Regions from separate parts of the Homo sapiens genome. Here region 2 is linked to region 1. The links are contacts of gene promoters, found by promoter capture Hi-C in blood cells and fetal thymus (Javierre and others, 2016). All regions are on one chromosome and are shown on one strand. Each heading gives the region's core, a stretch centred on a gene start or on the middle of the fragment in contact. The rest is flanking DNA. Distances are from core to core; before and after follow the strand shown.

Region 1 (2,700 bases), core at 1-2,500:
ACACACCAGGTCCCTGGGCAGGGCCAGAGGGGAGATGAGACCCTCCTCCCGGCCTACAGAGAGAAGTGGTGCTCTCCAACACCCTCGATTTGAACAGCAAGCTGGCGTACTGCGAGGGGAAGCTCACGTACCTGGCTGACAGAGTGCAGATGGTGTCCAGGACCGAGGAGGTAGCCCCGGGCTGGGAGGAACCTGCACAGCCCACGTCCCCTCAAAGCTGACAGGCTCCCGTTCAGAGTGTCTGCACGGCTGAAGGGGGCTTTGCCCTGCAGGGCGACACAAAGGTGAGGGACACCCTGGAGTCCTCGACTCTGATGGAGAAGTACAACACCAGGATCAGCTTTGAGAACCGGGAGGAGGATATGATCGGTACAGGCCCCGGAACTGGGGCCCGGGCTGCAGGCGGGTGGCTGGAACACAGGTCGGGGTGGCGCCGGCTCCCATCCCACCGGGACATCCTGGAGGGACAGCGGGGCTACAGGGTGCATCAGTTGTACCTGCAGGACTTTAATTGATGGAGGTGACTTAGTGATGCCATGGGGAGGCTAAAGCCACTGAAATACCTTGTTAATTTCTCCGAAAGGAGGAGGCATGCCATGCCAGACGGGCCCGGAGGAGAGGCACCAGGGCTGGAGCAGGGAGGAGCGCGGTGAAGGCCTGGGCCGGAGCTTCCACTGGGGGTTCTGCGGGAAAGGCTAGGCAGGGCAGCGTGAGCCGCTGCGAATGGGCTGGGCTGAGTCCTCCCGGCACGCTGGGGCTGTCCCTGGGGCAAGGCACCTGGCCCGGGTCGGTGGAGGGCGGGGGCGAGAGGCGGGTCGGGCGGCTGCGCCTAGCTGGGCTAGCCCCGTGTGCGAGCCGCCGCCTCCGCCCGCAGACACCTTCCAGTTCCCCGACATGGACCACAGCTACGTCCCTTCGCGCGCCGAGATCAAGAGGCAGGCGCAGCGGCTAATCGAGGGGAAGCTCAAGGCGGCCAAGAAAAAGAAGAAGTAGCCCCGCCGCCCCGCTCCCTGCTTTGCTACACAAATAAACATTTTTCCAGGACTGCTGCGGACGCTGGGGCGACCGGGGTCTCGGAGAGGAGCACGGGACACGCAGGATCGGGGGAGGTTCTGCGTAAGGAGGCAGCCCGGGCCCGGAACTGCGCGCCAGAACCGCGTGCGCATGCGCCGACCGCGCGCGCCGCGCCCCCGCGGCCCTCGCGGCGCCCCGTAGCCGCGCACCCCTCCCGTCCCGCCGAGCCGGCGCCAAGATGGCGGCGCTGACTCCTGGAGAGCGGTCGCGCCGGAGGCCGCGGGGGCCGGAGCGGAGCAGCCGCGGCTGAGGTTCCCGAGTCGCCGCTCGGGGCTGCGCTCCGCCGCCGGGACCCCGGCCTCTGGCCGCGCCGGCTCCGGCCTCCGGGGGGGCCGGGGCCGCCGGGACATGGTGCCAGTCGCACCCCTTCCCCGCCGCCGCTGAGCTCGCCGGCCGCGCCCGGGCTGGGACGTCCGAGCGGGAAGATGTTTTCCGCCCTGAAGAAGCTGGTGGGGTCGGACCAGGCCCCGGGCCGGGACAAGAACATCCCCGCCGGGCTGCAGTCCATGAACCAGGCGTTGCAGAGGCGCTTCGCCAAGGGGGTGCAGTACAACAGTGAGTGCGGCGGGCCGGGGGGGCGCGGGAGCGCCGCGCGGGTCTCCGAACCCAGGCCCCGGGCGCCGCGCGGTGGTGGGTGTCGGTCTCACCTGCTTGCCGGTTGTGGGGTGCGCTGGGCCCGCCGGGCGCTCCGGGAGCGGGGGCGCGGGCCAGGGGACGCGAGGAGAGGCCAGGCCAGGGCCGGGTCCTCGCGGCCCCCGAGCCGCGGGTCGTTTCCCAGCCGCACTCGCCTGCCGCGTGTCGCTCCCGCCGCGCTGTGCAGTGGAGCGGGTCGGCGGCGGCGGGGTTGGCCCGGCTGCCCGGCCCGGGGGTGATTACATAATGCCAAGCAGGGCCCGCCGGCCCGGGGCGCCGCGCCCCCGACGCTCCACGGTGCCCAGCCCCGGGCACCACTCACCTGCAGGAGGTGCGGGGAACCCAGCCGGCCTTGGCGCTTTCAGCGGGATTTTTCTTTGTTGACTTCCTACTGAGTTTGAAGACAGAATATTAGCTACGCCACACATTCTCGCCTTTTTTTTTAAAAGAAGCGTTTGTAAGAGACGTATCTAGAAAAGCTCCAGAAGGCACGGGCTGACTTGCGACTGTAGGAGACATCCCATTTCTCGTAGGAAGGAGGAGTCATTTACGGACTCCTGAGTGCCTGGGACGCTCCATTCCTTTGTTATAAATTGTGTAAATTGTCCTCGACCTCTTATGAGTTTTTCCATCTTGCGGGCTCTTTCCCAGTAGTTTTTGAAAGCTTTTATGTGGTTCCCTGTTTTGACATTGCTTCCCTCTTAGCCATTTCCGTATGTTTCTATGAGGTTTTAGGACGCTACGCCTATCCAGTTTTTTGGTCACTTTAAGGGGAGCCTTAGAGCCTCCGTGATATTTCCATGGTAATGTAGAATTTTAAGAACTAATGATCAGAAAGACTCTTGTGCAGGTTTAAAAGCAAGTTCATGAATTCGCGTGCCGTGTGCACGGAGAGAGGCCGTAGTTCCTGGGGCTGGAGCTAGTCCAGGAGGACAGTGAAGATGTCGCCTTCCTTAGTCCCCCGGCCTGTGAGCAAGAGGAAGCTGCAGACCA
Region 2 (2,726 bases), core at 214-2,713, 120 kb after region 1:
CCTGACAGAGGCAGACTCAGGTTCTCCCTGAAAAGTGCTCTTCACGAGTGGGCAGTGGGTGCTTCATGATCTCTTTGGCAAGAAAATGTCTTTGCCAGATGTGTTATTTTTTGCATTTTCCTAATAATAATTCAAGTTCAGGAGTGGTAAGCTTTAGTCTAGGACTCCAGATGTCAGTGGACAGGAAAGGCCAGAATGGACACAGATTCCCCAGAGAGAAGCGGAATGCCGGTGGCTGGGGAGGGCTGGGGAGCCCGGGCGCTGTGGCAGGAGCAAGGCCGCCCACCACGTGGTCTCGGCTGGGCCTCAGCCTCTGGCCTGGGTCCTGGGATGGCCTCCTGCTGGTGGCCCTGCCAGTGTCCAGACCCTCGGGAGCCAGAGAGAGACGGCCCACAGACCTGTGTCCCCTCCCTGGGGCTCTCTCCTCCAGGTGACCTTAATGCTGCTCGACCAGAATAACCGGGAGCACGTGATTGACGCCTTCAGGCCCGACGTGACTTCATCCTCTTTTCAGAGGCCAGTCAACGACATGAACATCGCAAGCGGCTGCCCCCTCTTCTGCCCCGTCTCCAAGATGGAGGCAAAGAATTCCTACGTGCGGGACGATGCCATCTTCATCAAGGCCATTGTGGACCTGACAGGGCTCTAACTGCCCCCTACTGGTGTCTGGGGGTTGGGGGCAGCCAGGCACAGCCGGCTCACGGAGGGGCCACCACGCTGGGCCAGGGTCTCACTGTACAAGTGGGCAGGGGCCGCGCTTGGGCGCTTGGGAGGGTGTCGGCCTGCAGCCAAGTTCACTGTCACGGGGGAAGGAGCCACCAGCCAGTCCTCAGATTTCAGAGACTGCGGAGGGGCTTGGCAGACGGTCTTAGCCAAGGGCTGTGGTGGCATTGGCCGAGGGTCTTCGGGTGCTTCCCAGCACAAGCTGCCCTTGCTGTCCTGTGCAGTGAAGGGAGAGGCCCTGGGTGGGGGACACTCAGAGTGGGAGCACATCCCAGCAGTGCCCATGTAGCAGGAGCACAGTGGATGGCCTTGTGTCCCTCGGGCATGACAGGCAGAAACGAGGGCTGCTCCAGGAGAAGGGCCTCCTGCTGGCCAGAGCAAGGAAGGCTGAGCAGCTTGGTTCTCCCCTCTGGCCCCTGGAGAGAAGGGAGCATTCCTAGACCCCTGGGTGCTTGTCTGCACAGAGCTCTGGTCTGTGCCACCTTGGCCAGGCTGGCTGTGGGAGAGGGTCTGGTCCCACGCCGCCTCTGCTCAGACCACTGTGTGGGAGGTGCACAGCACAGCCTGCGGGTAAAGTGTGAGAGCTTGCCATCCAGCTCACGAAGACAGAGTTATTAAACCATTCAAATCTCTGTGGTCAGTGGCATCCATTTGATTCCAGGTTGCCTGCGGCTTCCAGCCTTGGCAGTGGTGACCCTCTGCGGGTCCTCCTGGCCTCTCCTCTCACAGACCCCTCCCCACGGGGTGCCTAGCCCCTGCCTGCTTCTCTAGCTAGCCAGGCTGTGTTCTCTGTTCCTCACCTGATGTAAGCTCCCTCTTCTCGAGCCTTGTTCCCTCTTCTGGAATGTTCTTCCCTGTCCATCTCCTCTCCTGGGCCTCCCCAGGGACTCCTGTGAGAGCAGAATGAGGATGAGCCAGCCCTGGTCCTGCCTTTCTGTGCACAGGCTCCACCGAGCATCCTGGCTGCACCCGGGGGGTCCTGGCCACACCGAGGGTCCTGGCTGCACCGCCCCTGTGGTGTGTTTTTGGGACAGTGCAGGCAGGCGTAGGCACGGCTTCACACTCGGTGTCAGGGCAGCCGTGCTGGGACCTACTGGGCATCTGTATCGGGGTCCAGGATAAAGTGCTGTCCCCTCTCGACGTCTTCACGCACTGCTGTAGTTTGAGAAGTTGACCACAGAAAAGTACAGAAAATAACTCAGGCACGGAGCTGACCGACGGGCATTGTCTGTGTTCCGTGAGTGTGTACTGGGCCTAAAGAGCAAGCATTGCAGAGCCCTGCTGTTCCCTTTCCCGGCCTCACCTCAGCTCCCCAGGCCACGTGGCGGGAATTGAGGCGTTCCGGTTCTCTTTGGGCTTTAGAATTTTGCATCTGTACGTTTCTGTATTCACAAATAAGAATATTGCATTAAAAATGCAGAAACCATCCACTGGGTCAGCTGCAGGTAGCTGGGCTTTTGACTCAGCCTGGCTACTTTTAATGCATCTTGTGCTGGGCACTCTACATGGTGGATTCTGACTGCCGTGTGTGAGTTCCCTAGAGAGCACCTTCCAGTCTCTTCCCGTGTCTTCAGGGTTTGGTGACTGGAGATAGCCAGACCTGCTCTCGTGGGTCTCCTGTCAACCTGGAAGGAGGGTTGGTGGTTTCTAGGCCTCCCCTTTTTAGCAGTTGCCAGCTTGCTTTGCAGAGGGGCTGCATCCGGTCCTTCCACCAGCACCAGGGGGAGGGTTCCCATCACTCCCATCCCTCCCATCCCTGCCCGTGCTTCGTGTTGTTGGAATTGAGATGCTGCAGCGTGCTGTGTGTGAAGTGAAGTGGCATCGCTGTCACGTGCGTTTCTCTGATGACTCGGCGGAGTCAGGCGTCTTTACCACGCTTACCTCTCCCTTGGATTCTCTCCCGTGCGAATTGCCTGTTGATGTCTTTTTCTCATTTTTCTTCTGGTTGTTGGTCTGGGTCTTATTCTGCTGGTTGGTAGGAGTTCCTGATATTCCTGATTACG

The links. Contacts are between HindIII fragments. The CHiCAGO score rates a contact against its expected background, and 5 or more counts as called.
Region 2: a fragment that was not itself captured here is called in contact with the fragment with the promoter of RABL6 in region 1 in 5 of 17 cell types (endothelial precursors, M2 macrophages, activated CD4 T cells and 2 more); the score reaches 8.9 in endothelial precursors.

The regions. Positions count from the first base shown.
Region 1 is chr9:136,806,698-136,809,397 of GRCh38, forward strand. RABL6 (RAB, member RAS oncogene family like 6) reads left to right here and starts at 1,251. Exons shown (of 15, transcript NM_024718.5): 1 at 1,251-1,629. The coding sequence starts at 1,500. CCDC183 (coiled-coil domain containing 183) reads left to right here. Exons shown (of 14, transcript NM_001039374.5): 12 at 60-170; 13 at 273-369; 14 at 875-1,044. The coding sequence ends at 993. It overlaps CCDC183-AS1 (CCDC183 antisense RNA 1), which reads right to left and starts at 2,151. Exons shown (of 5, transcript NR_024580.1): 1 at 2,030-2,151; 2 at 132-505. It also overlaps the pseudogene LOC100422233. RefSeq lists enhancers at 195-790, 791-1,387 and silencers at 663-892, 1,093-1,262, 1,313-1,372, 1,393-1,522, 1,533-2,062. The HindIII fragment of the contact is 3,360 bases long and covers 1-2,369 here.
Region 2 is chr9:136,925,253-136,927,978 of GRCh38, forward strand. TRAF2 (TNF receptor associated factor 2) reads left to right here. Exons shown (of 11, transcript NM_021138.4): 11 at 431-1,355. The coding sequence ends at 649. Among named protein-coding and RNA genes, the nearest start is that of FBXW5, 18 kb to the right of the region's middle. The HindIII fragment of the contact is 2,628 bases long and covers 150-2,726 here.